4 separate regions of the Homo sapiens genome follow, and all the other regions are linked to region 1. Evidence: promoter capture Hi-C in human tissues and cell types (Jung and others, 2019). All regions are on one chromosome and are shown on one strand. Each heading gives the region's core, a stretch centred on a gene start or on the middle of the fragment in contact. The rest is flanking DNA. Distances are from core to core; before and after follow the strand shown. Region 1 holds the start of LINGO3 (leucine rich repeat and Ig domain containing 3). Region 2 holds the start of FSTL3 (follistatin like 3). Region 3 holds the start of GIPC3 (GIPC PDZ domain containing family member 3). Region 4 holds the start of NFIC (nuclear factor I C).

Region 1 (3,623 bases), core at 598-3,097:
GGGTGAAGGGCGCTCTTTGGAGGCCCGAGATTGACATGTGGTGGTGGGCGGCTTGATGGGGCCCACCCGGGGCCAACTTTGCTCGCAGAGTTCTTCAAGAGGCTCTACCTGGTGACGAGGTAGTGACTCAGGGGGCGCCGGGGAATGACAGTGCTGTGGGAAGAGACATCAAACTGCCTTCTATTCCCACTCAGCAAGGCACCTTCAGGTCCCGGCTTACCCTGGGGGTGGACGGCTGAGGCTGAGGGAGGCCAGGCAGGGCTGCTGCCGTAACCATCGTGACCTGAGCATCTGTTTTATGGTGGCACCACACTGCAGCCGAGGTGGGCAGCATCTCATTTAATCCCATGTGGGGTGGATCTGAGAGAGGGGACGTCATTTGCCGGAAGTCACCGGTGAAGACCAGACAGGCAGGGCAGGGAAGGCTGAGTTGAACCCTCCTAAGCCCCCATCCCACCGCCCGGCTGCCCCCTTCCTGCCACCCCACATCATCGAGATGGGGACAGGAGCTGGGTCTACAGGGGAAGCCCGTGGGTTCTTCCCACTCAGATCCTGTCTCCGACGATGGCTGCTGCTTCGGCTCAGAGAACAGCCAGGGTAAGGCCATGCCGCGGCAGCCCACCCCACACCAGCCTCCTGATAAAGCCAGCACCACCCTCCCTGAACCTGTTTCCAGCCTGCGTCCTCCACCTGACCACTCACACCTCACACCTTCTGCATCCTCTCCAGGCCACTTCCAGGGAGCCCTCCTGGGTTGCTCTGGTTCTCACAGCTCTGTTGTCCCTGAAGGCTCCCCCCAGCCAAGCCCCAGATCGTCCCTCTGCAAATACCACTGCACAGCAGACGCCCGCTCCCCACCCCCGCCGGAGCAAGGGTGTCTGCAGCCTCGCTGCGTCCATGGTTTAGCCAGGGACCGCTTGCTAAAATGCAGCTTCTGGGGCACATCGCCTCAGAAGTTCTGACTCCTCAGAACTGGGGGGGCCGGGACACCGGCACCGTTAGCGCCCCAAGCACACGTTGAGAAACCCAGTTACATGGTGGTCTCCAGCGTAAGGACCCGGGGCTTTTCTTGTGCCCGGACCAAGGCACGAGGTGCTGCTCCCCTAAACTTGTTGAATGGGACTCAGGGCCTCCCCTGGCCAGGCCCCAGAGGCCCGGGAGGTGGCGGCACCCACTCAGGGTGCCCAGGCCCACCATTTCTGGTGCTATTCAGACGCCCCCAGAGCAGGGGGACTCAGCCCTATGCCCCCAGGTCCCTCCCCGCCAGGCCGGGCCGTCAGCTCCAGCGATGGAGCAGGCTCCGGTGTGGACCCCAGATACCCTTTGCGTCTTCCAGCTCCGCACCCCCAGGCTGGACCAGACCCGGCTCGGGGGAGACAGGGCAGGAAGGCGCGGGCTGCAGGCTCTATTCGGACGTTCCCCACACCCCAGACCCAACCAGTGCCCCCTTCATCTCCTCCTGGAGAGGAGCGCATCCTCCCAGCGTCCCCAGTGCCCCGGGGAGATGCCCACCCGATTCCCCGCTCCTTGGCGCCCCAGAGGAGGGGCGGGGGGCCCCAGGGTGGGGAGTTCGCCCCCAAAGTTTCCAGGGGGAGCGTCGGGGGCCTGGCAAGGAGCGATGAGCCCGGGAGGGGTGCGCGGGGCAATTTCCCCCGGCTGAGGATGGGGTCGCGGGTTGGGGGCTTTGGGCGGCAGGGTCGCAGGGTGCAGGTGAGGGGTCCCCAGGTCTGCGGGCGCGCCCCACGCCGGGCCCCGGCACGGCCACTCACCTGGGCGGCTCCGCCGCGGACACGGCGCGGGCTGCGGCGCGGGGGCCGCCCGGAGCCGACACGAGCAGCCGCCGCCGCCGCCGCCGCCGCCGCCGCCGCCTCCCGGGCTCCGCCGTGCGCGCCGCCGCCGCGCGCAACCGCCCGCCGGTCTCCTCGGCGCGCCTGGCGGGGGCGCGCGGGGGCTGCGCTGGGCCGCGTGCGCGGCGGCTGGGGCCGCAGGTGTGAGAGGCCACGTGGGCGCAGGTGCGGGGACACTGGGAGCGCGGGTGCAGAACCCCTCCGTGCGCATCCCGGGCGCTTCGTGTCCGAGGACCTCCTGTCCCCACGGCCTGGGTGAGCCTGCGGAGACGGCCGTGCCGTGCAATAAACGCAGGGGCACCCCAAGTGCAGCAGGTTGTTCCGTGTGGAACCTTCTGGAAGCTACCATCGCCTCCTCTGCCCCCCGTCCCCCACCCCTAGTCCAGGCCGCCACCATCTGCACCTGGACATCTGCCACAGCCCAGCCCAGGCCCATTCCTTATGTGGCCCTCAGAGGAAGCCCCTCAGAGGAAGCTTAGCCACTGGGCTCCAGAACCTGCCGTGATTCCCTATTGCCGTGAGGGTCCCGTCTGCACCCCACCTACCCTGGAATTTCTCTTTCTTTCGTTCTTTCTTTCTTTCTTTCTTTCTTTTTTTTTTTGAGATGGAGTCTTGCTCTGTTGCCCAGGCTGGAGTACAGCGGTGCCATCTTGGCTCACTGCAACCTCCGCCTCCTGGGTTCAAGCGATTCTCCTGCCTCAGCCTCCCAAGTAGCTGGGATTACAGGCACCCGCCACCACGCCCGGCTAATTTTTGTATTTTTATTAGAGACGGATTTTCAGCATGTTGGCCAGGCTGGTCTCAAACCCCTGACCTCGGGTGATCCACCCACCTCGGCCTCCCAAAGTGCTGGGATGACAGGTGTGAGCCACCGCCCGGCTGCCTGCACTGTTTGGTCTGCCGCACCACCTCCTTCCCCCTGGCCTGTCCTCACTCACTCTTTCCCGGGCTCCACCCCCTCAGCCTTCCTCAAACAGGCCAAGTCCCTCCAGTCCCAGGCCTTTGATCTTCGCTGTGCCCAGCTTGGACAGCCTTTCTCTCTGTCCCTCCATCGAGCAGCTTGGAGCCTCTCAGTTTGTCTAATGGGCTTGTTCCCCAATGTGCCTTCCGCCTAGCACACAGCAGCGCACACACCAAGTGCACTGCGAGTGCTCATGGAAAGTTTTTTACCTTTTTTTTTGTCTTTTTTTTTTTTTTTTTTTTTTGAAATGGAGTTTTGCTCTCGTCACCCATTCTGGAGTGCAGTGGTGCAATCTTGGCTCACTGCAACTTCCACCTCCCGGGTTCAGGCGATTCTCCTGTCTCAGTCTCCCAAGTAGCTGGGATTACAGGCGCCCATGACCATGCCTGGCTAATTTTTGTATTTTTAGGGGAGATAGAGTTTCACCATGTTGGCCAGGCTGGTCTCGAACTCCTGACCTCAGGTGATCCACCCGCCTCGGCCTCCCAAAGTGCTGGGATGACAGACGTGAGCTACTATGCCCGGCCCCTCACTGCATCTTCTAAAAGCCACATTTAGCCTCCCTGTCTCACAGATGAGCAAACCAAGGCTGGGAGATGCCATTTGTCCCAAGTGAGGGGTGAGAAGGAGGCCTCGGGAACCTGTGTGTGTAACCTTGCCCTGTCTGCCCCCTTCACCCACTCTGCAGTCCTCCCCACCAGCTGTGTATTCCCAGTGGCTTTGGCGGTGGCCTGGCACTCACGCAGCCACCTGTGACTCAAGCAGGCTCTGTTCCCAGACTGTCGCGTTGGCTGGAGGCCCAGAAACCGCATCCC
Region 2 (3,623 bases), core at 379-2,878, 1.6 Mb before region 1:
GGGAAATGCCAGAGGCCAAGGCCAGGTCGAGACGGCGGGGTGTCCCCCCTCAGTGAGAATACAGGGTCCCGTCCCTGCCCTGCTCCCCAAGCCGGGGAGATTCCCGGGGGAAATGCCAGAGGCCAAGGCCAGGTCAAGACGGCGGGGTGTCCCCCCTCAGTGCCACTAAGGCAGAACTTGGCCCCTGGCCACTGGCTGCTGGGGGACACAGGCTGGGCAGCTAAGGTGGAGGAAAGGGTACAGGTGTGTCTTCTGTGGGCACAGATCTCACTCAGGCCAGAGAAGGGGCTGTGCCGTGGGGCTGCTGGACACGTCCGTTTCCACCTGCGGGGTGGGCAATGCCGGCACAGCGAGTGGCCAGACACAGGCATGCCCAGCAGACACCCAACCGCTCTCCACCACCTCAACCTTCTGTATTTTCCTGAAAGCATTTACCACTCCTTGAAGTTATAGATTAATTTGTCTCTGCATTTTGTTGTCCAAACCAGGAGCTCGGTGAGGGTGTGATGGGGTCTGCCTTGGTCACCGTGGCACCCCAGCACCCCGCAGGGTCCCTCTGGCCAAAAGAGATGTTCACTGATGCCCTAGAAGCAGGAACAGAGGGGCTCCCCTGCGCTCGCCAAGGGCGCCTGACAAATCTGGAGGCCCCCATGACAGAATCAGCTCCAGAGTAGGAAATGTGTCTGGCTGCACGAAAGCCCCCTCGGGCGCAGCGCCTCCAGGCCCACGCAGATGTCGCTGTCATACATTGTTGGAAACGCCTCTGCTGGAAACAGTGTTTGCTGAATCTTGGAGGGAGAGGAAAAAACCTAGTAAACATTCTTGTTGAGGTGATCTGGGGGAATGTCTGCAAAGGCTTGGAGGGCTGATGGGGCAGAGCTGCCCAGGGGCCCAGGACAAAGGCCAGGCGTGCGCGCGCACACACACACACACACACACACACACACGCAGTGGCCTCCCTGGGGGCCGTGGCTGGGCGAGGCCTGCTGTTGTCCGAGATGCTGGAAGGAGCTGTGTCTCTGGGTCTGTCCCGGCCGCACCCCGTTCTGTCCCACACCCAACCACTCCCCACCCACAGGCCGGCTCCAGCGGCCAGGTGGACGGGTGCGCGGCCCGCGCTGTGAGCAGGGAACCATATCCAGCTGAGGTTTTGGGTGTGTGGGGCGGGTCGGGAACAAGGAGGCCGGGTTGGGGGGCTCAGACCACACTTGGACCATGAAAGTGACCACATGCAAATCACAGAAACGGGATGCAGGGATCCACAGACGTGCTCCTCTTGGGTCCCCGTTACCTCACCGCCACCCCTGAAACTGAAGACCCCCAAACCCACTTTAATTCCTGGAGACGGCCCCTCGATCCACCCAAAAGGCTGCCACCACCTCGAACCCACACCCCTGTCCCGGTTCCGCCCTGGGTCCAGCCACATCTCCCCAAATGCATTCTCTGGCTCCGGAAGGGGACCCGGGCGCTCGCCCCCAACTGCCCCCCGCAGCGGCCGGGCCCGGCGCCTGCCCACCCCGCGCGGGACACGGCCTCGCCCCCGCCACTCCCGCGCCGCGCCCCGCCCCGCGCCCCGCCCCGCCCGCGGCCCGCGGGACCTTTATAGGGAGCGCCGGCCGCGCGCTGGGAAGTCGGTGCCGCTGCCGTCTCTGCGTTCGCCATGCGTCCCGGGGCGCCAGGGCCACTCTGGCCTCTGCCCTGGGGGGCCCTGGCTTGGGCCGTGGGCTTCGTGAGCTCCATGGGCTCGGGGAACCCCGCGCCCGGTGAGTGGGGCGGCCAGAGGGGCGGGCGGGGCGGGCCACCCACGTGGGGCTGCGCGGAATGCGGCCGGGGGGACGTCGGGGGGCGCGGCGGCGGCGGCGGGGGCGAGGGCGGTGTCCGGCGCAAGCTGGAGCCGGGAAGGTCTGAAGGAGGGTCACCAAGAGGTCAGCAGAGCAGAGGTTTCTAATCACAATGACCGCTGACATTTATTGAGCGCTTAGTGTCTACCTCTCCCCTCCCTGAACCTGTGCCATCCCGATAGTGCCGGAGCTCTCTTCATCTCCGTCTTCCAGATGGGGAAACTGAGGCTCAGGGTCACACAGCCTGTAGCAGGCAAAGCCAGGGTTCTAGCCGCGACCGTCCGGGTCGGTCCTGGTGCCGAGAGGTAGTGCTGGGTGTCGGGAGCCAGGCCCTCCAGCTGGGGCTGAGAGCTTTCCCGGGTCCTGGGTAGACGGGGCATGGAGTCTCACACCTGGGACTTGCCGGGAGGTGCCAGGCAGGAGACGGCCCCACTCCTGGCCTCAGTTTCCCCTCCTATGATGGGTGCCAAGGTGCTGCGTTCCACAAGCTGGTCCCTGGCAGTGTCTGTGAACCAGCAAGCGCTCTGGGATGGGGGCTGTGGCCGTTCCTGCCCCCAGGGACGGGGGAAGAAATGGGGGGCTCTCTGGCTCCCCACCCCCCATCCCTGCAGCCCCACCCCACCCCAGCCCTGCGCCAAAGGGAGAGCAGAGCCCCCTCCCCGAAGGCCACGTCCCTGGGGAGACAGTGAGCTCATGCAAGGGGAATGTTCCCAAGTTGGAGTGAGTAAGAGGCGGGCCAGGCGGTGGGGGGGCTGCCAGGCGCGGGGCTCCGCGTGCCCTCGCCCTCGGGTGCTGTCTAGACAGAGGGCAGAGGCGGGAGAAGCGGCTCCAGGGCCTGCTGACCCTGACATGCCCAGTGCCTGGTGTTTGGTGGTGTTTGAGGGGTTGGGCAGGGTGCCAGCCCCTGGCCTGGGGGCTTGGAGGGTACGGGAAGGGACCTCCTGGGGTGGGTGGGGGTTGGTGGTGAGGCTGTGGGGGGGGGCACGTGGAGCTCAGAGGGGAGGAGACATTTCCAGGGTTCTGGAGCCAGGGTGGGGACACCCATGTGGTTTTCTGCCCCTTCTTCCTGGGTGGGGGTAGATCATTCCGTGCGTAACTACTCAGCACCACCTGCATGCATCTGTGGGCGGGCCAGAAGCTGGGTGTCAGGAGTGGCCCAGGAGAGCACCCCGTTCCCCGGCCCGCAGGTGGTGTTTGCTGGCTCCAGCAGGGCCAGGAGGCCACCTGCAGCCTGGTGCTCCAGACTGATGTCACCCGGGCCGAGTGCTGTGCCTCCGGCAACATTGACACCGCCTGGTCCAACCTCACCCACCCGGGGAACAAGATCAACCTCCTCGGCTTCTTGGGCCTTGTCCACTGCCTTCCCTGCAAAGGTGAGACCTCAGGCCAGAAGCAGGGCAGACGTCTCAGCTCAGGACCAGCCACAAACAGTCATGGTGGTCGAGGGCCGAACGTCCAGGGACTGAGCCCGTCACAGGGGTATGTAGGAGGCTGCAGGGGGATCCCAGCCTCAGAGAGGGACTGGGGGGACTTCCCGGTTCCCAGGCTCCAGCCTCTTGCAGCTCAGGACTCAGGAAGAGACCACGTGGCTCCAGCCTTTGCTGGGGCTGAGCTCTCTGCCTGGGTGGCTCTTCCCACCTGGTCGATAAATGTCTGGCTTGCACCTAGCTCCTGGGAAGGTGGGTTTGCCATTCTGGCCTGTGACCCCAAATGTCCACACCAGGGACCTTCACTGCAGACTCCAGGGTCTGCGGTGGGGTTACAGCTGCATGTTTAACAAGC
Region 3 (3,623 bases), core at 291-2,790, 1.3 Mb after region 1:
AGCTGGGCATGGTGGCAGGTGCCTGTAATCCCAACTAATCAGGAGGCTGAGGCAGAAGAATCGCTTGAACCCGGGAGGCAGAGGTTGCAGTGAGCCGAGATCGTGCCACTGCACTCCAGCCTTGGCAAGAGAGAGAGACTCCGTCTCAAAAAATAAAATAAAATAAAATATCTGATATGTCAGATGGTAGCTTTAAATGCTGAAGAGAAGCTGGGCACAGTGGCTCACATCTGTAATCCTAGCACTTTGGGAGGCCAAGGCTGAAGGATGGCCTGAACCTCCTGGTCTTGAGTTTGAGACCAGCCTGGGCAACACAGTGAGATCCCAACTGTACAAAAAATTAATCATGTTTCTAAATTAAATTTTAAAAAACTGAATGCGGCCGGGTGCGGTGGTTCACGCCTGTAATCCCAGCACTTTGGGAGGCCAAGGCAGGTGGATCACCTGAGGTCAGGGGTTCGAGACAAGCCTGACCAACATGGTGAAACCCTGTCTCTACTAAAAAATACAAAAATTAGCCAGGCATGGTGGTGTGCGCCTATAATCCCAGCTACTAGGGGGGCTGAGGCAGGAGAATCGCTTGAACCCAGGAGGTGGAGGTTGCAGTGAGCCGAGATCACGCCATTGCACTCCAGCCTGGGCGACAGAGCTAGACTCCGTCTCCAAAATCAAACAAACAAACCAAAGGCTGGGCGTGGTGGCTCATGCCTGTAATCCCAGCTTTTTTGGAGGCTAAGGTGGGTGGATTCCTGAGGTCAGGAGTTCAAGACCATCCTGGCCAACATGGTGAAACCTCATCTCTATTAAAAATACAAAAAAATTAGCCGGGCATGGTGGTATATGCCTGTAATCCCAGCTACTGGGGAGGCCGAGGCATGAGAATTGCTTGAACCTGGTGGGCAGAGGTTGCAGTGAGCTGAGATCGTGCCACTGAACTCCAAACTGGGTGACAGAGCGAGACTCCAGCTCAAAATAAATAAATAAATAAAAATAATAAAATAAAATAAAACAATGACCTCGCCTAGCAGAGGGTGAGTGCTCCAGCACCCTCAGCTGTCCCTGTCCTTTTTTTTTTTTTTTTTTTTTTTTTTGCGACGGAGTCTCGCTTTGTTGCCCAGGCTGGAGTGTAATGGCGCCATCTCAGCTCACTGCCACCTCCGCCTCCCGGGTTCAAGAGATCTCAGCCTCCCGAGTAGCTGGGATTACAGGCGCCCGCCACCACGTCCGGCTGATTTTTGTATTTTTGGTAGAGACGGGGTTTCACCATGTTGGCCAGGCTAGTCTTGAACTCCTGACCTCAGGTCATCTGCCCGCTTCGGCCTCCCAAAGTGCTGGAATTACAGACGTGAGCCACCGCTCCAGGCCTGTCCCTGTCCTTATTTGTGGTCCCTGTTCTTCCAGGGTCCTGAGCTCAGGCCCCCCCGGACTGCGGGTATCCCCGGGGAGGGCACAGCTGGCCCTGGCAGGGCCCGGACACCTGGGGCCCGACCCACCCCTGCGCACCCCGCGGTGTCGCCTTCCCGGGAGGCTCGGGTTCCCAGATCCCCTTACCCGGGCGTCTCGGCTGTCGCGCCCTGGGCCGGGGGAGGGGAGGCTGCAGGAAGCGGCGGATCCGGCGGCGGCGGCGAGGGCCCGGGTGGGTGGCCGAACTTCTCCCGCCATGGAGGGAGCAGCGGCCCGGGAGGCCCGGGGGACCGAGACCCCGCGCGCGTCTGCGCCCCCGCCCGCGCCCTCGGAGCCCCCGGCCGCGCCCCGCGCCCGCCCGCGCCTCGTCTTCCGCACGCAGCTGGCGCACGGGAGCCCCACGGGCAAGATCGAGGGCTTCACCAACGTCCGCGAGCTGTACGCCAAGATCGCCGAAGCCTTCGGGATCGCGCCCACCGAGGTAAGGAGCCCGGACACCGGCGCCCAAGACCACCCGCCTGATGGGGTGAGGGGTAGGGAGCTTGGACCCTGGACGGGAGACCCCAGATCCCCGGATCCCAGACGTCGGGGTGGCCGCCTAATCGCCGGATCTCAGAGACCCAGCCCTCAGATCCCGGGGTGCCACACTCCCAGGGGCCCCCTTTGCACGCTCTGCGCAAAAGATGGGCAGGTCTTAGGACTAGCGGACCCCTAGATATTCCAGAAAATCCTCTGCGCAGACCTAGCTTGGAGCGGACCCCAGCCCTCGGGGAAGCGCCTCTGTGCTTCCTGGGCGTAGCTGGGGTCTGGGGTTCCAGATGGCCCCCTTAGGGATGGGAAGTTTGAGGCCGCCGTGGGGTTGGGGGGTTCCTGGGCGTTTTTCCAATCCGGGTTCGTTTGGTTTGCAGCCCCCAGGGGGCGCCAGCAGATTAAACCTGGAGGTCTGGGGGCTGGAGGTCCCGGGGTATGGAGAGGGGTCTCCACCTGCTGGAAGTCTCCTTCTCCCTCCTCTCTCTGTTCTGGGGGTCCCACGCCCTGCCCTTTCCCATGGGCTGGGATCCTGGTCGCTGGGGGCAGGGGCCTGCGCAGACAGGGTGGCTGCGTGGGGGGATGCATGCCCTGGCTAACTCTAGGCTCCTTCTCCCCCGGGAAGATTTTATTCTGCACCCTCAACAGCCACAAAGTGGACATGCAGAAGCTCCTGGGGGGTCAGATAGGCCTGGAGGACTTCATCTTTGCCCACGTGCGAGGCGAGACCAAGGAGGTGGAGGTCACTAAGACAGAGGATGCTCTGGGGCTGACCATCACGGACAACGGGGCTGGCTACGCCTTCATCAAGGTGCCCGGGAGGGGGTGGGCGGGTGGCTTCCTGGGGTCCAGCAACTGCCCCCCCCACTCTGGGTCGACGTGGGTTCTGCGGATTGGAGGCGGGTGGCTGGGGTTGCCCTGCCAGCGACGCTGGATCCCTGCAGAGAATCAAGGAAGGCAGTATCATCAACCGGATCGAGGCAGTGTGCGTGGGTGACAGCATCGAAGCCATCAACGACCACTCCATTGTGGGCTGCCGCCACTACGAGGTGGCCAAGATGCTCCGGGAGCTGCCCAAGTCCCAGCCCTTCACCCTGCGCCTGGTGCAGCCCAAGAGGGCCTTCGGTGAGGCGGGTGGGCTGGCGGGAGCTCTTCCCGAAGTGCGTTCTACGGATGCCTGGGGTGGAGGAGGGTCGGGGATGGGACGGGCTGGAAGGTTCTAGGTGCACCCGCTGCGTGCCAAGGAGCTCCTGGCAGGGTATCAGAAACTCGTAGGTAGTTTCTATTAATAGATTGTTATGGAGTCAGCCTGTGGGGGAGGGGTGGGGGAGAGACTGGGTAAAGTGGAGTTGGAGGAGGACGCGTCCAGAACCACTTTGGAGCCAGGCTGGGAGACTTGTTTTTGTTTGTTTGTTTGTTTGTTTGTTTTTGAGACGGAGTCTCACTCTGTTGCCTGGGCTGGAGTGCAATGGCGCGATCTCAGCTCACTGCAATCTCCACCTCCCGGGTTCAAGCGATTCTCCTGCCTCAGCCTCCCGAGTAGCTGGGACTACAGGCACCCACCATTGCGCCTGGCTAATTTTTGTATTTTTAGTAGAGACGGGGTTTCACCATCTTGACCAGTCTGGTCTCGAACTTCTGACCTCAAGTGCTCCACCCGCCTCAGTCTCCCAAAATGCTAGGATTATAGG
Region 4 (3,623 bases), core at 773-3,272, 1.1 Mb after region 1:
TATTCACACAGCCTTCCCACATGCTATGTAAAGACTCCAACCTTCCCCACCTCCCAAGATGCATCCTGTTACTATAGCCATTTTACAGATGAGGAAACCGAGGTTCCAAGAGGGGCAGTCTCTGCTCTCTAAACTTCACCTTCCAAAGGATTCTAAGCTGCTGAATGAAGGCTGCAGGCAGGGTGGTCTGTACAGGGGAGGGAGGGTGGAAGGCACGGGGTCTGGAAGTCTAGGAGGAGTGTCTGAAGTCAACTGCAACTTTTAAATATCTGTGAATTTTAGATTTCACCCTGTATGTGTCCCTAGCGTGTTTTAATAAAATAAATTGCTTCACGTTATATTGGTATGTGGATTTCCAGATACACTTCTCACCATTTAATTCAAATGCTCCCCACAGCTGCACAGTGGGTTTAAAATACACAGACACACACATTTATGGACCGTTCGTGATGTACTAAGCACTGTTTGAATAATGTCACCGTCATGCAGAGGGGAGCCTGTGGGGGGCCTAGGGAACCTACGCTGCAGGAATTCTGCTCCCTCCTAGTTTACCTGTCAGACCCTGGGCAAGTGGCTTCCGTTCTCTGGGCCTCAGTTTCCTCTCCTGTAATGCCTGAGGATAATGGGTGCTGGTATCTTCTGCGCCCCTGGGCCTGGGGCACCTGCCCCAGCTTGGTGAGAGGGTATCATTTGTCCTTGGGAAGCTCAGAGAGATGAGGTGAAATGGCCAAGCTTTCTAAGAATGTGTCTTTAGTGAACATTTGACCCAAGGTCAAGGCTCTGCTAAGGTCATTGTCCTTATCCCCAGCAATCCCACAGGATGGGCATCTTTAAGCCACTTTATAGGGGAGAACCCTTGGGATGGGAATGAGAGACACAGCAGCCTCTGAGCTAGCCTGGGAGGATCCAGGGAGTGAACCGGGGGAGGGTTGGGGCCCTGTCATCAGATGCCCTGGGGGCTCAGACGGAGGCAGGCCAGGTCTCTGCCCTGTTACGTCTAGAAGGAGAACAGAATGTGGGCTCCAGGTCCAGATGGCCTGGCTCCAAGCCACACTTGCCATACCTCAGTCTTGAGATCTGTGAAAAGGGCACACCCCTGAGGCAGGTGGAAATTATTGGATACCCAGGGGGAGGCTGCAAGGGTTTATCTGGCCAGCTGGAGATCCCGCCTGGACACCGTCCTCCTGGGGTGCTGGAGAGACACACAGGCGAGGCCACCCCTCCCCTGCCCCTTGGGTGCTGGGTGAAGAGAGCAAATTCTGGAGCCTCCCGTGTTAGCCTGGGCCCTTCTGGCCAAGGAAGGGACAGCTGCACACAAGCCCCTCTAGCTGGGGACCCGCAGCCCCTGCCTGGCTCTGGGGGGAGAAGGGAGCCAGGGTGCTGTGGGACCAGCTCACCGTGCACCCAGGGTCGTACATCTTTAAGGGGAAAGAGGCGCGCTGGCCGGCCTCTGCGCACGTCACTTCTTCATTCCTTCCCTCCCCCCTGGCTCTTTCCTCCAACTTCCCGGCCAGCTCGGGGGTGATGGGGGGGTGGGGAGGGGGGGCCTTAAAAATCCACCCCTGGCCCCTCAATGTCCAGAAACAACCCTGTCCCCCCTCTCCGCTTGATCCGAATTGGGGTCGCCCTGCAGTCCTGGGGTCCTGGTCTAGTGCCCTGGGGCATTGCGTAAATACGGGAGGAGCGGGGGGGTCCTGAGACGTCGGGGGAGGCTCTCCTTTCTCGCTCGCGCCCTTTTTTCCCTCGTTTCTTTGAAAGTTGGGTGTTGAGAAGTGGGAGGTTCGGGGTGGGAGGGGGAGGGTGTCAGAGGGTAGAGAGAGAGACAGAGAGACAGAGACGGGGGAGAGAGGAAGAGAGAGACGGAGGGAGAGAGGGACAGAGAGCGAGGCGGGCGGCGCGAGAGAGGGAGAGCAGGAGGGAGGAGGAGGGAGACCGAGGGAGGAGGCGGCGAGGAGAGCGCGCCGGCCGCGGGGCGGGGGGGGGGGTTGGGGGGGGCGGGGGGGTGGTTTGGAAAAATGACTCAGTAAGTTCAGCGCGCCCGCTCCGGCCGGCCCTGCGCCTCCCGCCGCGCCCGGGATGTATTCGTCCCCGCTCTGCCTCACCCAGGTACGGTCCTCGCCCGGCCCCCCGCCGGCGCCCCCGCGCCCCCCGCATCCCAGCCCCGGAGTTTTGAAGCAGGAGGAGGCGGGACGAAAAAGGCGCGCGTCCCTCCCGCCATCCCTGCCCGGGATGCCCCCCGCGCCGAGGGCTGGGGTCCGGTGGGGGGATGGGTCAGGCTGGGGTACCCCCCCCACACCCTTACCTACCGCGGACCCCCTACGCGGGACTCCCGCCCAGCACCCCCAACCCCGACTCTCGGGACCTCTCCCGGATGTGGGGCTTGGTCTGCAGATTTGCGTCCCCCCCCCACACACCGACGCACTCCGCACCCCCGCCCCGACACTCGGAAAGGTCGGGGTGGGGGCTGGCCCCCCTCCAGCAAGGGCTCTGCGGGAAGCCCCCCGCCTGCCTCTGAGAGGAATCTAGGGGGTCGTGATTGGACCCTGGGTCTCCCCAGCTGGAGAGAAAGGGACCTCTCATGTGTTTTCCCCGTGTCCCCCCACCAAGGTTGTGCGGGCCGCCCTGGCCCTCGGTCGCCTTTCCCTCGTTATTGGCCCACGTGTGCATGGAGGGGGAGGGGGCAGGAGAAGTTGGAGGCCCAGGAGGGGGAAGGGTGCTCCGGCGGCCCGGCTGGGTCCCCCCTCCTTTGCAAGCCCCCCAGCACCGTCCCGGTATTTTCGCTGCATCGATTCTGGATTCTGGATTCTGGATTCTGGAGCCGCCGCCGGGAGGAGCGGGAGGCCCGGCGCTCCGGGTCTGGCCCGGGCACTGCGGCGCTGCGGACGCCCTCGCCAGCCCGGCACCTGCCCCGTCCCCTCCCCCTCCCCCTCCCCCTCCCGTAGCCTCTCACCCCTGGCCGCACTCCCAGACTGCCCCGGGGCCGAGCCTTGTGCAATGGCCGAGGGGGTGTGTGGGGAGGGGGCGGCTCCCCCCGGGGACTCCTTCCAGCCCAGGCTCCCGGGGACCCCGAGGTCTGCAAGTTCCGTTTTCTAGACCGCTGCTTTCCTCCTTACGCAGTGTGTCTTTAGGCTGGAGAGGTTCTGGCCTCAGTTTCCCCTGAAGTGAGGTGCGGCTAAGGCCGGTTCTGGAGAGGGGACAGTATGGCGGGCAAACTGTAAAGTCCCGGCACGTGGGGGGTGCGATTCCAGCGAGGGCCAGGCCCGTCTTAAGAAGCACTGTGTGGGGAGTATATGAGTCCCCGGCTTCCGCTCCAGGGCATGGTGCAGTGAGGGACCCCCCACGCCAGGCATGCTCCTTGGTAGGGTCTTTCTCACCGGCCCCCTGCAGCCGACAGGGAATGTGGGAGCTGGTGCTGAGGGGGTCTGAGGTCTGTCCTACCTGTGATCCCCTGAGTGACCTTGGGTAAGTCCCTGTCCCAGCCTCAGTTTCCCTTTCTGAGCAGCTTTGGGGGGGGGGTTCCCGAAGAAGGCATCTCTTTGAAGTTCTCCAAGAACAACTAGGGTTCGAGTGGGCACGCTGTGTGACCTCGGGCAGCCTTTGAAGTCTCTGGGCTTGTGGGGTGA

What was found. The method cuts DNA at HindIII sites, captures the fragments that hold promoters and counts their contacts. A contact is called where the count stands out against the background at its distance.
Region 2: the fragment with the promoter of FSTL3 here is called in contact with the fragment with the promoter of LINGO3 in region 1 in 1 of the 25 tissues and cell types used here (heart left ventricle).
Region 3: a contact is called between the fragment with the promoter of GIPC3 here and the fragment with the promoter of LINGO3 in region 1, in 1 of the 25 tissues and cell types used here (aorta).
Region 4: the fragment with the promoter of NFIC here is called in contact with the fragment with the promoter of LINGO3 in region 1 in 1 of the 25 tissues and cell types used here (stomach).

Annotation. Positions count from the first base shown.
Region 1 is chr19:2,306,307-2,309,929 of GRCh38, forward strand. LINGO3 (leucine rich repeat and Ig domain containing 3) reads right to left here and starts at 1,848. Exons shown (of 2, transcript NM_001101391.3): 1 at 1,770-1,848. The HindIII fragment of the contact is 18,961 bases long and covers 1-3,623 here.
Region 2 is chr19:674,764-678,386 of GRCh38, forward strand. It overlaps FSTL3 (follistatin like 3), which reads left to right and starts at 1,629. Exons shown (of 5, transcript NM_005860.3): 1 at 1,629-1,763; 2 at 3,029-3,214. The coding sequence starts at 1,661. The HindIII fragment of the contact is 14,894 bases long and covers 1-3,623 here.
Region 3 is chr19:3,583,938-3,587,560 of GRCh38, forward strand. GIPC3 (GIPC PDZ domain containing family member 3) reads left to right here and starts at 1,541. Exons shown (of 6, transcript NM_133261.3): 1 at 1,541-1,885; 2 at 2,558-2,743; 3 at 2,877-3,057. The coding sequence starts at 1,661. The HindIII fragment of the contact is 10,668 bases long and covers 1-3,623 here.
Region 4 is chr19:3,364,561-3,368,183 of GRCh38, forward strand. NFIC (nuclear factor I C) reads left to right here and starts at 2,023. Exons shown (of 11, transcript NM_001245002.2): 1 at 2,023-2,106. The coding sequence starts at 2,077. RefSeq lists silencers at 1,652-1,741, 2,192-2,341, 2,632-3,031. The HindIII fragment of the contact is 27,364 bases long and covers 1-3,623 here.